Regions from separate parts of the Homo sapiens genome. Here all the other regions are linked to region 1. Evidence: promoter capture Hi-C in 16 types of primary human blood cells and fetal thymus (Javierre and others, 2016). All regions are on one chromosome and are shown on one strand. The core of a region is centred on a gene start or on the middle of the fragment in contact, and the rest is flanking DNA. Distances in the headings are between cores, read along the strand shown. Region 1 holds the start of ARHGEF16 (Rho guanine nucleotide exchange factor 16). Region 2 holds the start of TP73-AS2 (TP73 antisense RNA 2). Region 3 holds the start of LRRC47 (leucine rich repeat containing 47).

Region 1 (4,036 bases), core at 1,268-3,767:
GGCTGCCTGGTGTGTGTGGGGGGGCGGGTCCAAAGTCGCATCCGGCTCAGCCCGCGAGCCCCGCCTCTCCCGCCCCGGCGGAGCCCCAGGAGGGTCGCGAAGTTGTTGCGGCTGCCGGGGCGGGGCTTGCGGGAAAAGCGAGGGGGAGGAGAAGCGCCCCGGGTTCCCGGCGCCTCCCCCGGGCTAATCCCCCCACCCGGCTCCCCCGAGCCCCGACTCACCTGTCCCCCGGCTCACCTGTCCCCCAGGCTCACCTGCGCCGCGGGGCGGAGGGACGGAGGGGCGGCGCGCTGGCGGTGCAGCTTCCAGCGCCGGGTCCTGTCCTGTCCTGCAGCCGCTTCGCTCCTGCGGCAGCGCGGTCCGGCCCGGGGCGCCTCCTCCGCTTCCTGCGCGGTCTGGCTGGAGGGCGGCGGCTGCGGCCCCGCAGGTGGGCGCTGGGCGGGCGGGGCTGCTCCGGGTCCGAGGGCCCGGGCGGGGAGGGCCGGGGAGGGGGCGGGGCGCGTCCCGGGCACCTGTGGCGGCGCCGCCTGCGTCACAGGTCACAGCCCCACCTGGGCCGGCTGGAGCCCACGTGATCGCCCGGACTGGATCGCGCCTCTCGATTCCCGCCGAGCCGCCGCCGCCCGGTGCCTGCGCCTTCCCTCCCCGCGCCCACGCCCCCTCGAGGCCGGCCCGGGAGTCGCCTGCCAGGCGTGGGGCCAGAGCGGCTCGGCTCCCTCCTGCGTCACTGTCCTTCCAGGCCCCGCTCCACTGCCTCCTCCAGGAAGCCTTCGGGGAAGGAGACCAGCCCTGCGGGGACCGATGTTTGCTGTAGAAAGGCCCGGCCCTCTGGATTCTTGGAAGCCAGGCGGCCAAAGACAGCCAAGAGGGCGCAAAGCACTCTGGCCACCTTTTTGGTGTGGTTGAGTCGCGGTCATCCCCATTTCACAGAGAAGGACCGAGTCCTGGAAAGGAAGGCGCTCGCCCTCGTGCACAAGGCTGAGCCTGGACTCCGAGCCTGGCCTTTCCTTGCTCCGCCTGCTGGGAACCCGTGTGAAAGTGAGGGAGGGCCCCGGGCAGAGGCTGCAGCAGCCCCCCAGCTGGGGGTTCAGGAATCAGGCCACCTGGTGCTGTGGGAGGGGCTGGGGGCTGAGCCAAGCCTCCCAAGCTTGGGCCTGGCCATTCAGGAATGTGACCTGAGGTCCCAGGGCTCAGACCCACTTCTGACCTGCCTCCATCATCCCCTTTTCAGGAAAGGCCTGTTGCCAAAGGCCTCCATGTGAACATCCACACTGGGCTTTGGGTCAGCTTCTACCAGCGTCCCCTCACTGACCCCAGGCCTTGGGGTCGTGGGCCGGGCACCGGTGTGCCAGCCAGAGGCACTGACCACCCTCCTCCCAGGACCTGCCTCCCTGGCCTGGGCGGCCGTGAGATCCCGTTGCGGGTTGAGGAGACACCACAGGCTCTGGGGCTGTCACTTGGCATTTTCTCAGGTGTCATAGGTAGAGGGGCGGCCTGCCCTGCCCCTCCTGCTCTGGTCGCCCCACCCACTAGTCCCCCAATGTCTGCCCTGTGGCTGGGGCTGCCTGGGTGTCAGGTGCCATCTGGGCAGGGCACAGGCTGGCCTCAGGGATGGGTCCCGTGGGCCATCCATCCCCTGGGAGGGAGGGTGGATGAGGGAGGAGCTAAGAGTTGACCCCTGTGGGCTGCAGCCTCCACCTGGAGCCGCCTGTGGGGAGGTTCCACTTCCAGGCAGCTCTTGGGAAAGGCAGGTGGCTGCTGCCCTCCTGAGTCCATGATGGGTACTGCACCGACGAGGCCCGGCCTGCCGGAGGGAGCTGGGGTGTCCCGGAGCCTTGACCCGTGAGGGGACTGAGGTGCGGTGGGGTCACTGAGGCCCAGTGAGGGGACAGAAGCCTTGCCCCAGGCCAGTCAGCAGGACCCAGGTTCCTGATTCCCACTGAGTGCTTTCCTGTAAAACCCTCTTTCAGTAGCTGCCTCCAAGTTACCCCCAACCCCACACCTTCTGTCCAGCCCCTGCTGGGCCCGTTCAGCCACCCTGGGTCTGGCTTCGTCTCCCCATGTCCTGCTGGCTTCCAGAGGCCACTCAGCGTGTGCTTGGGATGGTCCCTTTGCTGGGGATGTCACCTGAGCTGGCGTCAGGACCTCTCTGTGCCTCTGTCACCTCTGCTGTAAATGAGGGCCTGATGCTGGCGCAGGAGATCGCCCTGGCATGAGGCCTAAGGGAGAGGTTGGAAGGAACCAGCTTGGAGACCTAAGGGGCTCGCAAGGAGAGAGAGACTCCGGGGAGGCCTGCCAGTGGGAGGCCTGCCAGTGGGGTCGGCCCGTGGCACTTCCTGCACCTCTGTGGTGGGATCCCGAGCCTGTGGCTCAGCCTGCCCTGGGGGCCTTCCCCTCCCACATTACTGGCAGGGGAGAAGATGTGGATCCCCCAAGCTTAACAGCCACTGTGCATTGCTGTAGGGTGGGCAGCGCTCTGGCCGAGCACCAGTGTGCCAGCCAGAAAGCACACCTCTATCTGCGGGAGCAGAGCTCCTTTCCTGCGGCTTGAGGTGGCCTGAGCTCCTGCGGGCCTTGCTTTGAGTTTTCCAAGCTTTTACTCAGCCACTGGGGCCACAGCACAGACAGCCCGTAGCCTTAGGTGGTACCTGAGGCCAGCAGCCCCTCGGGAGGCCTTTTGGCTCGACCTTCCAGGGTAGGTGTCCAGGGCTGAGGGTGAGCTGAGGCTGCTGGGCAGGTTTGTCCTCCCTGCCAGGCCGAGTGGGCGGTGCTCCCACCTGCTCCCCTCCCTCCCTGGGGCCCTAAGGAGCACACGGGGTGGAGGGAAGGCCATGACAGCCCTCAGTTCTCAGGCCCTCAACGCTGGGCTGCCCTGTTACCCACTGCAGTTCCATGGGTGTCCTCTCCAGCCCGTAGGCAGCTGGGAAAGGGCCCCAAGGGCGCGGCTGTGAGTGGGATGGAGGACAGAGACGCCTCTGCTGGGTGGGTGGAGGCCCATGGCTGGGGGGGCCGGGCTGGTGGGAAGAAGGTTGGGTTTGAGGAGCAAATGCCCCTCCTCCTTGTACCCTAAAATAGCAGGTCATTACTTCCCATTAAGCACCTACTATGTGCCAGCCTCATGCTGGGGGCCTTGCACGCGTCATCTTAGTGAATTCTTACAGAAAGCCCCTCAGATGCCCCCCGCTTAACTGAGAGGAGAAATGTTTTGCCCCTTGTTACCTGGCTGGTAAGTGGCCCAGCCACAGTTAGAGCCCAGGTCTGTCTGACGCCAAAGCCCAGGATCCCTAGTCATCATTAGGGACCATTTCTGGTTTACAAAGACATGCATATAGTATTTATATTTTTATATAAAAATATATAAAAGCAACCCCATGTATCTTCCCCAAATTGAGAATTTAAAACATGTCAGGTGTTTTGGCCATGACGAAGTAGTCGGTACCAGACTTGTCTGTCACCACAAACAACTCAAACATGGAACAAAAAATACGAGAAACAACTCTTTCTAACACTGGACAACAGGTGCAGAGACAGAAATTCCTGGAGAAAGAGGTAAATAAGCCTTTGGCCAAGAGAGGCTGGTGGCCTCACTGGGCTACAGGGGACAGAGTTGGGGAGCCAAGGAGGCCAAGGACTATGGAGAGAGTCCTGGAGAGAAGGCAGCAGTGCAGGGGAGCCCCGAAAGAGTCCTGGAGAGAAGGCAGCGACGTAGTGGAGCCCCCAAAATCCCCACAGGGGTCCACTTGAGCCTTTGGCTGAATACTGAACTGTGCATAAGCAGAGTAAGATCCCATGAAGCCAGGGACCAACAGCGACCAGGGAGCTCTGTGAGCAGAGTGACACCAGAGTTCATACCAGGCCAGGGGACGCTGGAACGTCAGCCACCAGGAAGGAAGCACCGTCGCTGACTATCCCTCGTTGACCTCAGCCGCTTGGGAGTCTGAGGTGGGAGGATCGCTTGAGCCTGGGGAGGACGAGTCTCCAGTGAGCTATGATCGAGCCAGTGTACTCCAGCCACTGTACCAAGACTCTGTCTCAA
Region 2 (3,994 bases), core at 241-2,740, 260 kb before region 1:
GGGGTCCAGTAGGAGACGAGGGCCACAGGCAGAGGAGATAAGAGGGGCCTAGTGTTGGGGGAGGCTGCGAGGCAGCGTTTGCCCAAGGTGTCTGCCTCTGTTGGTGTGGAGACCTGGGGAGACAGTGAGTGCTGTCCACCTGCCAGGGAATGGGGCACCTGGGTCCACCCTCATGGCCACATCCACTGCCCACTGGTGCCTGCCCTGCGCGGGGCCCTCACCTGACCTTGGCCCTGGGAGGTCAGGCACTGTCACTCCGTTTAGTGACCCAAACCTGCCTGCTAAGCTGGGGTGGACCAGCACCCAGACCATAGCTGTCTGACCCCCAAGCTCCATCTCCCAGCCCTTTGTCACTGCTGGGCTTGACTTGGGTCCTGGGGCCTGGGGTCGGGGTCTAGGCAGAGACCCGCCTTAAGCACCCCTGGGTTCCAGGAAGACGGCACTGCAGAGGCGTCACCCCTGGGTTCCAGGAAGACTGGGCACTGCAGAGGCGTCACCCCGGGTTCCAGAAAGACGGTACTACAGAGGTGTCAGGTGGGACATGGGCTTCTTACCCCGTGGCTGGACTTAAGCCCCTTAGGGGTAAGGGGAACAACAGCCAGGGGCCTCACCTGCCCTGGTCCTGCTGGGGATGGGTCTCCATGGACAATAGAGACTGAGACTCACACAGACTGCCTTGTGTCTGGCTGGGATTGGGTGGCCCAGCCTGGACAGCTCCAGCCTCCACTTTGCTGCCGAGATGCTGTGTGAGGAGCTCAGGGCCCAGTCCCCACCCGGTCGCCGCTGTCCTGATTCACTGAGACCGCGTGCGGGTGCCCTGTGGCTGCTACTATCACTGTCACTCTGCCCAAGCCCGGGAAGGAATGAGCTGCCCAGGCAGGGCGAGGAACTCCATCTGCTCTTATTCCAGGACCCAGGTACCCCATCTGGGGCCTTGGGGACAGAGGGGGTGGCAGGGCAGTGCCCTGGGTCCGCAGAGACAAAAGCTGGGGCTTGCAGAGGGCCCCGGAATGCCCACCAGCAGCTGCCCCTCCGCTCTGAAGACACAGAGTGTTCAAAGCACCACACTCAGCCTCTGCCCTGGGCCGGGACCAAGCGCAGGGTCCTCTGCCCGCAACTTGCTTTTTGACAGCGCCAGCTGGAGGGCCCGTTGCCAGTAGCCTGGCCTCTCCTCCGGCCTCTGGCAAGGACCTAGCTAGCGGGACTGTGGGCCAGGCCCTGGAGCTGTCCCACGAGGGGCCCAGCAGGCTGGCAACAGGCCTGCTCTGCTCACTGCAGAGAGGGCCCCTTAACTCCTGGGGAGGAAGCCCCCACCATCCTTGCCCCCACCATCCTCACCCCCACCCTGACTGGTGGCTTTGAGGAGAAGCCAGGATTAACCCAGCCTTTTGAGGCCCGGCTTTGTCAGCTGTGGGGATTGGAAGGGTGCCCCAGGGTCAGTGGGTGCCCTCTGCTCACAGGACAGTCCCGGAGTCTCTGGCCACAGCTTCCTGGGACAGCCTTGGGGGCTGGAATTGGCAGCAGCTGGAGGTGGCCGGAGACAGCGGAGGGAGGGGAGTAAGCTGTGGACATGGTGGGGTGGTCCCTCTTCAGCTTTTAAGGTAATAGTTGGCTAGAATCTAGGTTTTTGCTAAACTTTGTAAATCTTCATTGAAATGCCTGGGGGAAGGAGAATTTTGGCCTCCGAATCTCTGACCCCTGCAGAGAGTGGTGTCTCCCCAACGCCAGGTGCAAGGAGCTGGGTGCCTCGCTCCAGTGGCATGGCTGGGGGAGGGGTGGGTTTGCAACCCTTGGGGTGGCTCTGGGCTTTAGGTAATCCCCCTGTGCGGTTTCCCCATGGGCTCTGACTTCTGCCTCACTGAAGCCTGGAGTGCTGTTACCTTCTCCAAAAGGGTCTTTCTGCCCTAAAATGCCCTGTTCCGCTCACGGCCTCTGCAGCCCCATCGTAACCCCTGGCTGTGGACACCAGCCTCGGCCGCCACGTAATCTCTGAGCCTCACGCTGTCCGCCTGGAGTGCAGAGAAGATGCTTTTCTTTCCAGCCGGGACACCCTGGAATTGTCTGTCCCCCTCTTCCTGAGGCTCCTCGGAAAAGGGACAGAAGGTCTGGAGGTCGCTCAGGGCCTTCTCTACCCAGAGGCAGGGGCTGGGCCTCCAGGGTCCGGGTCTCCAGGGTCCGTGGCTTCAACTTTTGGAATCTCAGAAAATCCCAGAAGTGACCACTGGCCTGGGGTGGCAGAAACCCACCAGACCGGGAAGCAAAACTAACTCACTGCCCAGCTGAGCCCCCCACCTTGCCCCGAGTCCCACACGGCCCAAGGTCCAGGTCACCTACGACCGCATCTTGGCGTCAGCACTGGGTCCAGGAGAAGCCTGGGACGGCCCTCCCCTGTGGGCCTCTCTTTCCCCCTGTCAACGGGAGTTAGTGGCAGTGAGGCCAGGCCTGGGAGGGGTGAAGGCAGAGGGGGCAGGGAGGCACCAGGAGAGGCCGGTCCCCAAGCCCAGCTGCCTGGCTTCTCGCCCATGAGGCTCGCCAGCCTCGGAGCACTCCAGTGATAAAGCGTTCTTGAGGGATTTTCCTTTGTCAACAAAACCAAGCAGTGAAAGCAGACAGGGACAGCTCTCCACCCCCAGTCCCAGTTTGATTCACTGGCAGACAGCAGTGGAAGGCTCATGGGGGCCAAGGTACAGCCTGGGCTCCCCCCACACCCCATTCGGTCCAAGGCTTTCTCCCCTAGGGACAGGCAGGTCCCTCTGAGGTGTCAGCACCTCCTTATCACTGGTTCCCCTGGGGGCCCTGAGGGTCACAGGGACCTGCCCCACAGAGCTGGGAGCAGAGGGTGGGGCAGGGGGCAGGGGCTGCTCGTGGGGACCTGTCCAGGGACCTGTAGGGGCCGGGGTGGGGCACCACACGGGCTGCAAGGGCAAGGTTAGGGGTCTGGCTGCTGGGGCCAGGTCCGGCTCTGCCCTCTGCTGACAGGTGACCCTGGTGTGCCCTCTGGGAGCCTCAGTTTCCTCATCTGTAAAATGGGGAGTGTGGGAGGCCCTGCACATAGGGGCAATGCTGCTGCCAACGCTACTAATCAGACATGCTGGGTCCACAGGGCTGTCCCCAAACTGGAAAGAAGTCCTAGAAAATAGATGATTCTTCCTAAAACGTAAATTGGATCATGCCTCTCCCCCAACAGTCTCATGCCTATGGAAGGGAATCCTGTCCCCCAAGGGGTTCTCCCTCCTGTCTCCTCCAAGAACCAGGCAGTGTGGGGTGGGGCAGCAGGACCCAGGGTCTCAGAGCTGGGGCCTCCCCAGCCTCACTTGGGGCCTCCAAGGCTAAGTTCTGTGACCTCCAGGGCCCAAGAGTGAGTTCCTCTGGCTGCTCCAGAAAGTGAAGAGAGAAGAGCCAACCCCGGCTCGGGCCACGAGCCCCGAGGCGCTGACCACAGCCAGAGCAGGCCTGCTGGAAGCTCCGTCCCTGCTGCAGATCCCTGCGCCACATGATATCAGCAATTGCTGCAATTTCGCCCTAAGTACTCTTGTTTCCCCTAATAATCCACGTTTCATCTCCACAATAAACATTGTTAGAACTCTTCCCTCAGCTTTACGCACATATAATTGCTTCTGGTGCCAGTAAAAGGTATTAATTCCACTCATGCATTCCATAAACTTTTAGGATAATGCAATTGATACCATGATCGTGTTGGGACACCTCCGCTATTATTCTCCTGCTTGCAAGCCTCCGAGGCGCTGGGAAGGTTGCTCCAGACCCATTAGTGTTGACTCAGCCTCATTCTCCCCAGGAATCCCGTGCAGAGCCTTTGTGCTTCCCTGGCCGTCCTTCCATATGTCCCTCCTGGACGGGGGGCTTTCCTACCCGTGGAGCCAGCTCTCCCCTAAGACAAACATGTGTGCACATGCTCGCGCACACACACACACACACACACATACACACGCTCGCGCACACACACACGCTGAGTCTGAGAGCAGCTGGAGGGCAC
Region 3 (3,755 bases), core at 739-3,238, 340 kb before region 1:
CTTAGAATTTTATTTTATTTTTATTTATTTATTTTGAGACGGAGTCTCACTCTGTCGCCCAGGCTGGAGTGCAGTGGCGCAATCTCCGCTCACTGCAAGCTCCGCCCTCTGGGTTCTTGCCATTCTCCTGCCTCAGCCTCCCGAGTAGCTGGGACTACAGGCGCCTGCCACCAAGCCCGGCTAATTTTTTTTGTATTTTTAGTAGAGACGGGGTTTCACCGTGTTCACCAGGATGGTCTCGATCTCCTGACCTGGTGATCCGCCCGCCTCGGCCTTCCAAAGTGCTGGGATTACAGGCATGAGCCACCGTGCCCAGCCTCTAGAATTTTATTTTTTGGCCAGGTTTGGTGACTCACACCTGTAATCCTAGCAATTTGGGAGGTTGAGGCAGGTGGATTGCTTGAGTTCATGGGTTTGAGACCAGCCTAGGCAACATGGCAAAACCCCAGCTCTACAAAAAATACAAAAATTAGCCAGGCGTGGTGGCACATGCCTGTGGTACCAGCTACTCAGGGGCTGAGGTGGGAGGATCACTGGAGCCAGGGAAGTTGAGGCTGCAATGAGCCGAGCTGGAACCACTGCACTCCAGCCTGGGTAACAGAGCAAGACTCTGTCTCAATAAATAAATAAATAAATAAATAAGAATTTGGGGGCTGGGTGCGGTGGCTTGTGCCTGTGAGCCCAGCACTTTGGGGGGCTGAGGCGAGCAGATCACCTGAGGTCAGGTGTTCGAGACCAGCCTGGCCAACATGGCGAAAACCGGTTAATATAAAAATTATATTAACACGGTTAATATAAAAATTAACCGGCCACGGTGGCATGCACCTGTAGTTCCAGCGGGAGGCTGAGGCAGGAGAATTGCTTGAACCCAGGAGGCGGAGGTTGCAGTGAACCAAGATAGCATCACTGCACTCCAGCCTGGGTGACAGAGCGAGACTCCGTCTCAAGAAAAAAAAAAGAATTTTGGTTTTGGTTTACACCACTCAAAAGTGCAGGAATTCCAAAACAAGCCGGTCGGGGCACAGTAGAGCACAGACTCTGGCTCCTCCATCCGCCCGCACCCCACCCTGTGAAAGGAAAATAAATCTCAAAACCCCACAATCACTAAGTCAAAGGAAAAAGTCAAGCTGGGAACTGCTTCGGGCAAATCGGCCTCCCGTCTTATTCCTAAATAAGATAGTTACAAATACATATTTTTAAAGCTACACACCTCCCTCACAATTTGCCCACAAAGAAATTCTCTGTGGGCCTCAAGATCTTTACCCTAAAACAGTTCTGTTGAATTTCACCCTGGCAATGCAAATTGATAGCTTCCCTTCACAGGTGCGAGACAAAGGACTGAACTCAAAGCCATCCCTCTGCTCACCTAGACAAATGCATATCTGATCGCTTCCTTTGCTCTACTGTTTACGTAGAAATGAAGATTCAGTAAGCCAGACTAAAGCATAAGCGACTATTCCTCTACCCGCGTCTCACATGCATAATAAATTGTGCAGTCAGCGAAAGGCTGAACAAAGACTCAAAAGAATGCACCCTCCGGTCTCTTCTCTACCTGTGACCTGAAAGCCCTCTCCTGGAATTGTCCAGCCTTTCTGGGCTGAACCAAGGTACACTCGCACGTGTTGATTGATGTCTCACGTCTCCCCAAAATGTACAAAACCAAGCTGCATCCCAACTTCCCTGGGCACCATCGTCACGATCTCCTAGGGTTGTGACACTGGCGTGTCCTTAACCTTGGCAAAATAAACTTTTTACATTTCATTGAGTCCTGTCTCAGATATTTTTGGGTTCATAACCCCCACCCTCACCCCTACCCGCGGAGAGAGCGAGCCGCTCTCCAGCCCCTCCCCGGCTCTACGCAGGAGAGGCCACTCTCCTCTATGGCACGCGCGGCGGCACTCTAGCAGCCAGGTGGCTTCTCTATGGGCTTTTCCGGCACAGGTCGGAAGTGGCGCGCGCTGCCCCGGAAGCACCCTGGTGGGTGGGTGCCTGCCAGCAGCTGAGGCGCCATGGCGGCGGCAGCGGTGTCAGAGTCTTGGCCGGAGCTGGAGCTGGCTGAGCGCGAGCGGCGGCGGGAGCTGCTGCTGACGGGGCCCGGGCTGGAGGAGCGAGTGCGGGCGGCGGGTGGGCAGCTGCCGCCGCGGCTTTTCACCCTGCCGCTGCTGCACTACTTGGAAGTGAGCGGCTGCGGGAGCTTGCGCGCGCCGGGGCCTGGCCTGGCGCAGGGCCTGCCGCAGCTGCACAGCCTCGTGCTGCGGCGCAACGCGCTGGGGCCCGGCCTGAGCCCCGAGCTCGGGCCGCTGCCTGCCCTTCGGGTGCTCGACCTGTCGGGCAACGCGCTGGAGGCGCTGCCGCCGGGCCAAGGCCTGGGCCCCGCCGAGCCGCCGGGCCTTCCGCAGCTGCAGAGCCTCAACCTCAGCGGCAACCGGCTGCGCGAGCTGCCAGCCGACCTGGCGCGCTGCGCCCCGCGCCTGCAGAGCCTCAACCTCACCGGCAATTGCCTAGACTCCTTTCCCGCCGAGCTCTTTCGCCCCGGCGCGCTGCCCCTGCTCAGTGAACTGGCGGCTGCTGACAACTGCCTCCGAGAACTCAGCCCCGACATCGCCCACCTGGCCTCGCTCAAGGTCAGCGGGGGCTGCCCGGGCGGGGCGGGATGGGGCCTTGGAGTAGCCCTGGAGAAGGAACCCCTCTCGGGGCCGAGCAGTTCCTAGTGACGCCCCCTGGGGCACTGGGCCCAGGGAATTCCTACAAGGCTGAAAGGAGCCAGCTGCGGGGGGCATCACCCCTGGGAAGCAGATGCCGCCTTCCAACTCCCCCTTCTCCTGGCCACACCAACATACTAGGTGGCCTCTGAACTCCCCCGCATTCTGTTAACTGGACTTTTACACGTGGTACGCTATTTTGTAATTGTTAGCAAACCTGGCTTCTCCTGTAGATCGAGCGTAGAGACCTGTCTTTTTTGTATCTAGTACTTGTGAAGTGACTTGAGAGTGAGTCTGGTGGTGAAGGGGGCACCCTGGATTTTGCATAATGCCACATGCTGTGATCTTGAAGATTATATTTCACTTCATCCTAATAGCAGCTTTCCAAGGTAGGGGTGGTTATTCCTGTTTTACAGAAAGCCAAAGGGCCTGCCCAAAGTAAGCAGCAGGTAACTTGGGTTTTTCTCCAGACTATATTGTCCAGCGTCTGTTTACTAATTAATCTTGGATCCCCAGGCCCCGCGATAATGCTTGGCCTATAACAGGTGCCCATTGAATCTGTTGCCTAAAAGAAAGTAGGGAAGCCACATGGCAGAACCACGACCTAAACCCAGCCAGATGTTCTCTCCATCTTCTCTTTTGGTTTCATCCTTAAGGCAGTCCTGCATTTCTTCCCCCATTTTTCGTCTTTGAATTTATGCAGACATTTCTTTTTTTTTTTTTTTTTTTTGAGATGTAGTCTGGTCCTGTCACCCAGGCTGGAGTGCAGTGGCGCGATCTCGGCTCACTTCAACCTCCGCCTCCCGGGTTCAAGCGGTTCTTCTGCCTCAGCCTCCTGAGTAGCTGGGCTTACAGGCGCACACCACCACGCCCGGCTAACTTTTGTGTTTTTAGTAGAGACGGGTTTCACTGTGTTGGTCAGGCTGGTCTCGAACTCCTGACCTCATGTGATCCGCCTGTCTCGGCCTTCCAAAGTGCTAGGATTACAGGTGTGAGCCACCGCGCCTGGCCTATGTGGACATTTCTTAATAAAATACGTATACACTTTAGCAG

What was found. Contacts are between HindIII fragments. The CHiCAGO score rates a contact against its expected background, and 5 or more counts as called.
Region 2: a contact is called between the fragment with the promoter of TP73-AS2 here and a fragment that was not itself captured in region 1, in 9 of 17 cell types (non-activated CD4 T cells, total CD4 T cells, naive CD4 T cells and 6 more). The highest score is 11.9, in non-activated CD4 T cells.
Region 3: a contact is called between the fragment with the promoter of LRRC47 here and a fragment that was not itself captured in region 1, in 1 of 17 cell types (total CD8 T cells). The highest score is 6.8, in total CD8 T cells.

What each region holds. Positions count from the first base shown.
Region 1 is chr1:3,451,030-3,455,065 of GRCh38, reverse strand. It overlaps ARHGEF16 (Rho guanine nucleotide exchange factor 16), which reads right to left and starts at 401. Exons shown (of 15, transcript NM_014448.4): 1 at 255-401. RefSeq lists an enhancer at 1,567-2,319. The HindIII fragment of the contact is 157 bases long and covers 2,439-2,595 here.
Region 2 is chr1:3,711,794-3,715,787 of GRCh38, reverse strand. It overlaps TP73-AS2 (TP73 antisense RNA 2), which reads left to right and starts at 1,490. Exons shown (of 2, transcript NR_185884.1): 1 at 1,490-1,601; 2 at 3,350-3,588. All of the region lies in intron 4 of TP73 (tumor protein p73), which reads right to left. RefSeq lists a silencer at 955-1,194. The HindIII fragment of the contact is 47,283 bases long and covers 1-3,994 here.
Region 3 is chr1:3,794,731-3,798,485 of GRCh38, reverse strand. LRRC47 (leucine rich repeat containing 47) reads left to right here and starts at 1,988. Exons shown (of 7, transcript NM_020710.3): 1 at 1,988-2,624. The coding sequence starts at 2,010. RefSeq lists an enhancer at 1,807-2,101 and a silencer at 2,217-2,426. The HindIII fragment of the contact is 14,897 bases long and covers 1-3,755 here.